2 separate regions of the Homo sapiens genome follow, and region 1 is linked to region 2. Evidence: promoter capture Hi-C in 16 types of primary human blood cells and fetal thymus (Javierre and others, 2016). All regions are on one chromosome and are shown on one strand. The core of a region is centred on a gene start or on the middle of the fragment in contact, and the rest is flanking DNA. Distances in the headings are between cores, read along the strand shown. Region 1 overlaps EPB41L2 (erythrocyte membrane protein band 4.1 like 2). Region 2 holds the start of ARHGAP18 (Rho GTPase activating protein 18).

Region 1 (5,787 bases), core at 1,047-3,546, 1.3 Mb before region 2:
ATGTCTTACTTATCCATTCATCTATTGTTGGACATTTTTGTTTCTACCTTTTGTCTATTGTGAATAATGCTGTTATGAACATTGGTGCACAAATATCTATTTGGGTCCCTGCTTTCACTTCTTTTGAGTGCATACCTATGTGTGGAATTGCTAGGTCATATGGTAATTCTTAAATTTGTGGGGAACAAACAGACAATTCTACAAGGGATGTGCCATTCATTCTATATTCCTGCCAGCAACTCATAAGGGTTTTATTTCCTCTACCTCCTTGCCTATACTTGTTTTGCTCCTTCCTTCCTTCCTTCTTTCCTTCTCCCTCCCTCCCTTCTTTCTTTCTCTCTCTCCTGTCTTTCTTTGTCTTTCTCTGTCTCTTTTTTTCTTTTTTAAATCATAGCCATCCTGGCCAGGCACAGTGGCTCACGCATGTAATCCTAGCACTTTGGGAGGCCGAGGCAGATGAATCACGAGGTCAGGAGTTCAAGACCAGCCTTGCCAAGATGGTGAAACCCTGTCTCTACTAAAACTACAAAAATTAGCCAGGTGTGGTGGCAAGCGCCTGTAATCCCAGCTACTCGGGAGGCTGAGGCAGGAGAATTGCTTGAATCCGGGTGACAGAGGTTGCAGTAAGCTGAGATTGTGCCACTGCACTCCCAAAGTGCTGGGATTTCCCAGAGTGCTGGGATTTCAAGCGTGAGCCACCGTGCCCAGCCTTAAATTTTTTTTTGTTATTGTTAGTCTTTGATTTTTAAATGTAACATTGAATAAAGAGGTACCATTATGAGGTTAGTACACTTAACTTCAGCATTGGTATATATAAAATTGTTACCTTATGGTTATTATTTTGGCAGGACTGGTAGATAAGAATACATCCTCTTTCATACAGTTTTTAACAAATAATAATTCTTTTGTGACTTGAGAGATTAAGAGCTGTAGTAAACAGAATTTTTTTCTGTTACTTTTCTGTAAAGTTCCAGGCTCGAGTCCTTGGGCAAGCTAACCTAGCAAGTGAGCATACGTTGTAATATCCTGGGATGATGGTCACTCTGCCTCACTACTGGTTCTTGAGATTAAAGTATAAATCTGAAAGTGCTTTGTGAACTGAATAATGCCAATTTTTATTTTTTACTTTGGCCCACTGAGATACTGTGACCTTCTGTGCAAGCGAGTTTTTAATCATGAGGGAAAAAAGTGAAGGTTTATGTAGCACTTGTCTTTAAAAGAACCAAAATTATTTCATTTATTCCCTTTACATTCTCGGGAGCTGAAAGAAGATAAATGCTACTGCATTTTAGGGATGAAAAAACTGAAGGAAGGATGAAACCCTTGTATTTTTCCATAGCTTTGTAAACCACTATACCAGTCCCTCTTCAAGCAAGACTTTATTGTGCTGGCTAGGGCTGTCTCTGTGGTTCTTGACATGGTAATATATAGGAATATTATATATGATATATGAGACTATATGGGACTATAACTGATGTAAGCTTGGTTTATGAGCTTATCTGATAAGCATTTCTTTGAGTAGTTTTCTCTTCAAATGTGTTTTTAGGGATATTTTCTCAGGGTTGAAGCCATTTTGAAATTTGCTGTATAGTTTAAACAAATGCCTTGCTTCCTCTCCCTTTTATACCCTCTTCACTTTGGAGTAAGTGTAGCTATGCTCTCTTCAAGAAAGAGTTTCATGGCATTTAAAGAGGAAAATATTATCTTCTGCCAATGTTAACATTAACATAGCATTTCTTTTTCTAATTTTTTTCTAGTTCTCATTTGTGTACATCGATAAATGCCGCCTTCAGAATTGGAGAAAGGTTGAGATAGAAAACATATATTATCAGAGCTTCATGGTCAAAAGATTCATTTTATAGTGACAATTACTATCTCACAGGTTGGATTATTTGTTTCTTTTGGTTGTAAATGTTTACAATTCTACTGAATTTTCAGCTAGTGTGCTTATAAGTTATTTTCTTTTTTGTGTGGCAATTCATATGACAGAAGAATTGAATGAGGAAATTAGGAAGTTTTGAACTGTCACATTTGCTAGGAGTTGGATTTAATTTATTATTAGTAAAATTTCCAGTTAAATAAGATAATTCTAATATTTATAGGTTACTGTGTATTCTTTCAGCATGCTCCTTGGTACAAAACTATTCAATTGAATTTACTAACTATATATGATTATCTTGGAGCCTTTTTTGGTACTCTATCAGCTGTTTCTATGGTAATTTTTTGTTCATTGTTATCACTTATAGCTTACTCTATTATGGCTTTTTAAAAAAAAAATCTCTGTATATTTTCTTATCCTTACTTGTTTGCTTACTTTTCTAACCATTAGTCTAAATTGACATTTAGGTAAATTTGCTTTTAAGTTGAATACTTAAGCCAATGATTCAGTCATTTTGTCTTTTCTGGGGTGGGTAGTGCCTACTAGACATTTAATTGTGCTGCATTTTAATATTTCTTACCATTCATTATAAACTTTTTTTTTTTAGACAGGCTCTCCCTCCGTTGCCCAGACTGGAGTGCAGTGGCACCATTTTGGCTCATTGCATCCTTAACCTCTTGGGCTCAGGCGATCCCCCCACCTTAGCCTCCTGAGTAGCTGGGACTACTGGTGCGTGCCACTGCCATGCCTTGCTAATTTTTGTACCTTTTTTTTTTTTTTCTGTAGAGATGGGATTTTGCCATGTTGCTCGGGCTGGTCCTCGAGCTCCTGAGCTCAAGCGATCTGCCTGCCTTGGCCTCCCAAAGTGCTGGGATTACAGGCGTGAGACACACCATGCCCTGCCTCTCAATACACTATTTAATACATCAGACCCTTTGGTACCTCTAGGCAGAGGACCGCAATTAATTTATGAGCAGCTGTTGCTGTATACATGTAATTATGTTTGACTACAAATGCATCTTTACAAAATGGGCCTAGTGGAATCATAATATAAATGGTTCAGATTAACTTAATTCAGATTAAGAAAATTGTTTCATACTGAGGTAAGCGATTGAAAAATTGTCTATTTAAAAATGCAGTGCATTTTAAAGAGTTACTATTTGAGGATCTAAAATATACAGAGAAGGCTGCATATTTTACTTTGATCTTATTACCATCCAAAAGAAAGCTTACATAGAAATGATTTGTCACTTTCTGCTTTCTGAAGAAGATATATGAGTCTTTTAGCCAGGTCCTGGCTATTTAGTCAGTTGAGAAATACTTTCATTAAAAACCTATTGGTAGAAATTTGCCAGTTTATTGAGCACTTGCTCAAGTAGTTGCTTTTCTGAGAGGCAGTGGTGAGACCAGGATGTTCCAGCCCCAAGGAGGGCCCTGTAGCCCATCTCAGCCTGGCCATGTCGTGCTATGAGAGGTTCCTCTATCCATTGGTCAAGGAAGGGATCAGGCCCTGCAGTCACACTGCCTTTGCCTCTTGCCGACTTTATTCTTGAGCGAGTCACTTGGCAGAGCCTCTGGTTTCTCTTAGGGTTGCTGTAAGCATAGAGCACGGGGTCCTGGTAGGGAGCAGATAACAGTAGGGCCCTGAACCATTTGTTAAAGTCATTGAGGAACTGCGAACAGTGGTTCTGAATAGTTTTTAGTGTGTGTGAAACTGTGATTGAAACTGTACATGTGTGGAAAGCCACAATCCAATTGTGCAGGCTGGGGTGCTGCATAAAAAAAAAAAAAAGAAAAAAAGAGAAAAATCCTCCCTTGAGGATTCCATTGTTGGATAAAGGGCTCAGAACAATCAGATCTTGCTTTGGGCTTTCAGGTATTGTGGCACCAACAGCTGTATTCTGTTAAAGATCAACTTTCAACTGTTTGATAGCAGTTAAATGTCACTGGAATGTTTAGGCAATTGCTTTGTAATTTGACAGGCATCTCTAAGTTTTTCCGAAGTAAATGTATTAAATCTGAGTCAGCCTTTGACATGTAAATCACATTCAGGATTCCATGGGCGTTGAGGTGGGAGAATGAACTTTTAATTTCTGGAATTAATTTGGCAGTTTAAAAATAGAGCTGTGATAGTTCTAATGTTGAATCCTTTCTGCGTGTTTAAAAAATTATTTCTATAGAATGAAATTGTAGAATGTAAGTATAGCTTCTGAAAGGACAGTTATTAATGTGCTATTTAGCCAGGTGGTTTTCAGAATTTGACTAGTGGAATTAAGCATGCTTTTTTTTTTTTTTTTTTTTTTTAAACAAATGCTGAAGTAGGGTGGGTGTGATATTTTCAGGTTTTTGCAAAACCCTAAACTGTTATGCTTTTCAGTCCTAAGCAAAACAGAAAAAAACATCAGTATTCCCTTGATGCTTTTCCCAAGTATAGCCCACTAAAGGAGGAAGTTGTAAGGAGACAAAGTCTTGTATTTCCTTACCAGAATTTTGGGAAGTAGAGAGATGTTAGGGAGGAAAATACCCATGCAAATATGAAATATTCAAGATTTTTTTCCCTTTAGCATTCTCTGTCCATTGTTACCACTGATGAGTTATACTGAGTGGAAGATGGGAAGGTTGAAACGTTTGCTATTTGATAGAAGCAATTGATCTCCTAGAGAGAATTGTGGTAGCTTTGCAGAATTCTTTGTAACCCTCTAAAGCCAAGTTGATCAGTCATTTTGGTGTACCCTTAGTAATCTGGCTATTCAAAAATGCAACAAGGGTTTTATAGCATTTGTATGTATACATGGAGATAAAAGGAATGAAGACATGGCAAGTGTAGATTATTTTAGAGTGAGAAATGTTGCTTTAGATAATTATTACTTAGAGCATTTGAGTCACCTAGTTACCCAAGTATGATTGGAGGTCAATAATGAAGTGAAAAACATGTATATATAAATACATACTTATCTGTGGTAGGTAATGTACCCTGAAGAATTTTCCATGAAACTGGTTTTATGCGATATTAATACATATTTAGATAATTTGGTATATGATTTAGAGACTGTATGATCTTTTTTTCTTGTGATGATGGGAACAAAAATCTTGTGTTGTTTGAGGGCTACTTCAGTGAGGTATGTGTACTTAGACAATGTAGTATTATAGTGTTCAAAGTATGGAATCAGATTTAATGATTTATCATATATGTAATTAACATTTTCTCTTTTAAAATAATAAAACAGCTAGAGTCAACTTTTCATATAGTCTAGTATGTCCCGAGCACCAGACATTGGGATATTTTTAGTTCATTGCTTTATTCCTTGGAGAGCAAAATTGTTGCACTAAGGGATGACCCAATCCATTCGTGACAAATAAATAGAACATGGCCAGGTAGGCTCAGAAGGGGAAATGAGTTCTGTACCAGCCTAGAAAACTGCTTTGTGCCCATCATGAAAGGCTTGTTTGGCATATACTCTTCTAAGTGGCCTAATAATCATTTTGTCCACTCCAGAAATAGTATTTTAAAACACGTTAATTCTTAGAAGGTGTCGGTAATCCTGATGTTGCTCTAGATTGGTAGTGTTAGTTGGTGAATTGACATCATCTTTTTACTGATAGTGGTAATGAGGGGTAGATTGACTTCATGTATTATAACTGCTAACTTTTAAACTCAGATATCTAATTTTAAAACATGTTGAAACCTTGCTTTCTGTTTACTGGTATTTGCTTTTTGTCAGGTCTTTTGAAATGATCTCGGCAGACACCAAATAAGTATATTATATGTTGGATATTTGAATTTTGCTTAGGCACTTATGAGAGAAGTTATAATGTAAAATTTTCATTTTGCCTTCCTTGGGAATAGTTCAAGTCCTTGCAGTTTGGTTTTAATTTTTAAAATTTTTAAAAACTTTAAATTTTTGTGG
Region 2 (5,708 bases), core at 1,749-4,248:
CCAAATATTATTTTGACATTGTAAAACAATTACATTTCAACCTGTACATTGTGATTTGTTATTAAACAAGTGAAAAGACCATAATTAGGCAAAAATATAACTAAATAATTGTTTTGGCTATAACTGGACAAAATCTTCATCGCAAACTGTCACATGAGAGATGCAGTGCCCGTGGCTGCCAATGGGCATGGATGACATTGACAGGCTAAAGACATAGCAAAGGAAGAAGGAAAACTAGAAAAAAAAGGAAGATAATAAAAAGGGAGGTAGAGGGAAGTAAGGGGGGAGAAAAAGGTGGGAGGGAAACAGAAAAGAATTTCCAAAAGATAATGTAGTGATTACCATCAATAATTGTATAAGATAGTGATTCCCATATGTTTGCATTTCAGAGTAGCTACATAAAAAAGGAGGGGTGGATGAGCTGGTTATTAACATTTTTTCCATGTAAGGACACTGAAAAGACAAAACACATATATTCTAATTTACTTTAATCTTTGCCTCCCTCTCTTTATAGTTTTTGTTTTGCCTGAACTGATGAACATTTCCTCATAGGTTAGCACTGGTATGTGCATGGGAACCGCTTATCTAATATTACCAATTTTAATATAAAGATTTAGTAGAGTTGGCCGGGCGCGGTGGCTCATGCCTGTAATCCCAGCACTTTGGGAGGCCGAGGTGGGCGGATCACCTGAGTTCGGGAGTTCAAGACCAGCCTGACCAACATGGAGAAACCCAGTCTCTACTAAAAATACAAAATTAGCCAGCGTCGTGACACATGCCTGTAATCCCAGCTACTCGGGAGACTGAGGCAGGAGAATCGCTTGAACCTGGGAGGTGGAGATTGTGGTGAGCCGAGATCATGCCATTGCACTCCAGCCTGGGCAACAAGAGCGAAACTCTGTCTCAAAAAAAAAAAAAAATTTAGTAGAGTTTTAAAGGATACTTTCAATTCATTCAGGTTTTCCTCCATTCAGTGTTTACTGAAGGCTCAGTAGGTACAAAATTTAAGTTAGCTGTCAGATGAAGAGAAAAGAATCATAGTAGGACCTGAAAAGATTGTGTCTAGCAGATGGAAAGACTTGTATGTATAAGGTAGCAGGAATGCCCAGTGATCTGCTCAAAAGCCTGGAACTGGCTCTGTTAGCAATAGAGAGCCAATGAAGGTTTTTAAGCGAGGAGAGGGATCATGAGTGCCAGGGTGTGATCATAATGTCAAAGCAATTTAAAGGAGGTGACAGGGAGATGAGCTAAAAGGGCTGTTGTAATATTGGAGCTAAGACTGCATTATAGGATCCAGAGGTGGTTGAGGTCATGGGGATAAAAAGGAGACAGCAAGTAAAGTCCTATGGAAGTGGAAATGGGAAGGTTGAGCAGTTGTGCAGGGGGGAGGGAGGAAGATATAAATTCCTTTTAAGGAAGACTTTTGTAAATTATAAGAAAGAGGGTTCAAAAATAAATTTCAGATACTTCTAGAGTATGTAAGGAGGAAGAAATTATTTTTCATGACTGTTTTAAATAATGATAAGGTATAAGCAATAAGTTTATGTAATGATGGAATTGGAAACTTGTTCAAGAGGAATTCTAGAGAGTTGAATGAATCATAAAAATCTAAAAAAACCTTCAGACTACTGGGTATGTCAGAGTAGAAGCCAGGCGTGGTGGCTCATGCCTGTAATCTCAATACTTTGGGAGCTTGAGCCAAGAGGATTGCTTGAGCCCAGGAGTTCAAGACCAGCCTGGGCAACACAGTGAGACCCTCCCTCTCCACAAAGCATAAAAAAATTAGCTGGGCGTGGTAGTGCATGCCTGTGGTCTTAGCTATTGGGGAGGCTGAGGCTGGAGGATTTCTTGAGCCTGGGAGGTTGAGGCTGCAGTGAGTTACAATCACCACTGTACTCCAGCCTGGGTGACAGAGTGAGACCCTGATTCAAAAACAAACCAAAAAAGTGATTTTTTTTTTTGGAGGGGAGATGGGGAGAAAGAACAGAGCTGTCTTTTGTGTTTATGATAATTTTGATCTTGTTTCTTAATCTGCAAAACAAAGAAGAGCATACTGGTGAAAAATAAAAGGAATGTAGCCTAGAATTCTGTTCAAATCCAGCTTCTGGCACTAGCAACTGTGTTATCTTAGTGAAGTTACTTAACTCGTCCCTCAGCCTTACTTTCCTTGTGTTATGTATAACACAGATGATAGTGATACCTATCTTGTACGGTGTGTGTGTGTGTGTGAGAGAGAGAGAATTGAATGGAATGAGATAATACATGTGAAACCCCCGTCCATGAGAGCTTGGCATATAGTAGGTGCTCAACAAATGGCAGGGACTTCTCTTGTTCTCAGCAATAACACTTAACAGAGCATTGGTAGGTCTATCCCTTTTTGGTGCTGAAAAATATTTTGCTAAAACAAGACGTATATTTGAGATTGGCTTTATGTGAAAGACGACGACATTCCAGGACACACAATTTTTATGAGGGCATTTTTAACCGGACACAAGGATCAAGCCTTTCTCGTCGTCTGGATTGCAGAGTTTTGCCGCGGGTTCGTTGTTTTTTACTATGGCTAATTTTAACGCTGAACATGAAGGGGTTAAGAAATGCCTTTACTCATGTTACATTAAGTAGCAGAAATTATAAGATAGAGGAATTGGGGAGGGAAAAAAAAAAGCCTTGGCAGCAACTCATGGTTTCCTAAGTAAGACGGCTTGTAGTTACAGTGATGAGTTGAATATACGTTCTGGCAGTTTAATCTGATCAGACTAACTTGGGGGTGGGTGCAACCCGTCGCTTCCACCCTTCGCCTCCTTTAACCAAAGCCGCCCAGAGTGCAATTGTCCAGAGTTGAAACCATGCTGTGAGTTGCAGCTTCTAATTGGAGAGGCAGGAAGCCCTTCCCTGGACAGACCCCGCCCCTCCCCGTGTGAATCGCCAGCCTGCGGGGAGGAGCTGGCCAATGCTAATGAGCGAGTTGCCAGGCGAGACAGGAACTTCTTTCCCCTTCTCTGTGTCAGGATCGCAGAAAGTATGTCCCTTCTCTCACCATGAGCTGGCTCTCCAGTTCCCAGGGAGTGGTACTAACAGCCTACCACCCCAGCGGCAAGGACCAGACCGTCGGGAACAGCCATGCAAAGGCAGGGGAGGAAGCCACCTCGAGGTAAGCCTTCGGAAGCTGAAAACAAAACAAAACCCTCTTACCTGCTCCAGGAAGAAAGTGACAGGGAAGTTGGCGTGGGGAGAAGGGAATTCCATCTGCACGTCGAGCCTGAGCTCGTGCAGCAGCAGTAGCAACGTTTGGCGTGATTTTTATGTACTTTTCATCTCACCTAGTCCAAGTCTGAAATAACCCATATGATTACTGGTGAAGACAGAGAAGAAGGAACTGGGGAGAGGGCTATATGGGCTGTCAGACTAGCTATTTAGCAGGTGCATTTGCACATGCTGAAAGATCAAATAGGTCTATCTGAAACACTTCCTTTCCTATGAAATGGAATTCTTGAATGGGCTCAAGGCACTGCCACTGGAACTGTTCGCTGGGAAAGTCTGCCAAAAAGCAGGGAGGCTGTTCACTGTACTGTACAAGCTGTTGTTGTTAGAGTGTTTTTTTTCCCCCCTCTCTTTGCTGAAAGCAAACCTCTTAGGCAAAAAGCCCAAGACACTGGCCTGTGGCAATATGTTTCACATTCTTTTGTGTATGTGGATTTTTTTTCCCCCAGGCTTTCAAAAAGGAGTTTTTGTCAGGAGATAGCACTCTGCTGCTGGAGTGAAATGTGGTTAATGTTAAATCACTTTATAGGCAGAGAGGGCAAATGTTCTATAGACCACTGAGGCGCAAAGGGTACCTTTCTCCCTATCTGTGTACTTTGTTCCATTTTCCAAGGGCTTTTTTTTTTCTTTCTCTCCTTAATGACCTTCTCACTAGCTGAACATTTTTACCTCCATCAAGATATAAATAGTAAATATTGGCCTAGAAGATTGCAAGAAGCAAATACTAACCTAATAGCCTAGAACACTAAATTAGTTATCGGTAAGCACATTTCCTCCTCAATGCTTAATGTGATAATAAAACCTTCTTTGTTCTTATGTGACTTATGCCTGTGCCTTAAGCTGAAATAATGCTGCCTTTCATTTGTTTTAAAATCTCCAAATATGAGGGAGGGAGAAAAATCAAAGGAATGGCTGTAATACTCAGTGTTAGACTCCCAGCTGACGGGAACTGTTTCTCACATAGCATCCACAGTATGTATTTCATTGAATGAATTCATTTCCAAAGATAAAAAAGATTTGGTGCTTGTGCCTTAGCTGTGTTACCATTTCATTTTCCATCATTTTAAATGACTTAATGTTAAATCATTAAATCAAGAGATCTTGAAGTGTTTTCATCCATTTTTCTGTAATGTATTAGTAATCATTAAGCAGTAAAGCAGCCTGCAACACCAACCCCATACCCAGCCATAACTTGGATTCCACATGTCAGTCAAAATTGCCAAAATTATACAAGCTCAGGACATTCTCCGACTTTAGGCTGAATGGCCTGAGGACCTGAGCTGAATCTTGGATCTTGATTGTGAGAATGGAAAGGACCTTAAGGACTGAGTCCTAACCTCTCATTTTCACGTAGGACTCAAACCCCAGGGATTAGTTAAGTTTTTGGAAGGTCTGGAGTTCTAGGCCTTTGTCTGGGGCTGCATCTCCAGTTCTGGAGACTCATTATTCTGTGTTTGCAGTGTGGGTGGCCCATACTTGAGTGGGTTGAGAGAATAAGAGAGGATCAGATCATTCTCTGCCTAGGCTGAAGCAGAACCAAGAGGCACTAAGGTGGCAGGGTGGGCAGCTGCCCACACGGCAAGTGCCCTGTGTGGGGCCACAGCTCCAGGTGAGCTCCTTTGCTGGCTGTCACGTAGCCTGCCCATACCAGACCCAACTTCCCACCACTGAATTAGTTCTAGGGATCGTTCCTGATATTGACCGGAGAAGATGGGAGCCTGGTTTGAGGGCAGGGAGGAAGGAGGGAGTAGGGCTAGTTTTCAATGGCTTTTACCCTTAAGGGCTAACGAATCAGATAAACTTGTTGTTGTTTTGGGAGATACCCTGTTTAGCCTGAAAGGATTGAGATACTGTAATTGCTATGGGGGAGGGGATGGATAGAAGGAAGGAGGATTTGAAGGTGGGATGGGGTCCTCGGTGACCACCTAAGAATGGTGATAGTGGTTTCGGGGCGGTGAACTGGACTTTGGCTTTGGCTTTGGCTGGGTTGGTCAGGTGTTGTTTTAAGCCCTGGGAAGCTGCTCCAAGGTGCAAGGTTGATGGTTGATGCCTATTTAAAGAAGTTCTCCAAAAAGTAAAAACAAAACAAAACTCTTAAAAAGGCTACATTAGGCTGGGTGTGATGGCTCACACCTGTCATCTCAGCACTTTGGGAAGCTGAGGTGGGTGGATTGCTTGAGCTCAGGAGTTAGAGACCAGCCTGGGCAAAAAAAAGACCCCCGCCCCCACAGCTCTACCAAAAATACAAAAAAAAAAAAAAAAACAAGAAACCACAAACAAACTAGAAATGGTAGTGCATGCCCGTGGTCCCAGCTACTCAGGAGGCTGAAGTGTGAGGATCACTTGAGGCTGGTGGAGCAGAGATTGCAGTGAGCTGAGATCACGCCACTGCACTCCAGCCTGGGTGAGGGAGTGAGACCCTGTCTCAAAAAATAAATAAATAAATA

Evidence for each region. The method cuts DNA at HindIII sites, captures the fragments that hold promoters and counts their contacts. A CHiCAGO score of 5 or more calls a contact.
Region 1: a fragment that was not itself captured here is called in contact with the fragment with the promoter of ARHGAP18 in region 2 in 1 of 17 cell types (M0 macrophages); the score reaches 5.7 in M0 macrophages.

What each region holds. Positions count from the first base shown.
Region 1 is chr6:131,027,788-131,033,574 of GRCh38, reverse strand. The region is part of intron 1 of EPB41L2 (erythrocyte membrane protein band 4.1 like 2); the gene reads left to right. Among named protein-coding and RNA genes, the nearest start is that of EPB41L2, 33 kb to the left of the region's middle. The HindIII fragment of the contact is 1,626 bases long and covers 1,484-3,109 here.
Region 2 is chr6:129,707,467-129,713,174 of GRCh38, reverse strand. ARHGAP18 (Rho GTPase activating protein 18) reads left to right here and starts at 2,998. Exons shown (of 15, transcript NM_033515.3): 1 at 2,998-3,151. The coding sequence starts at 3,039. RefSeq lists a silencer at 2,645-2,724. The HindIII fragment of the contact is 10,321 bases long and covers 1-5,708 here.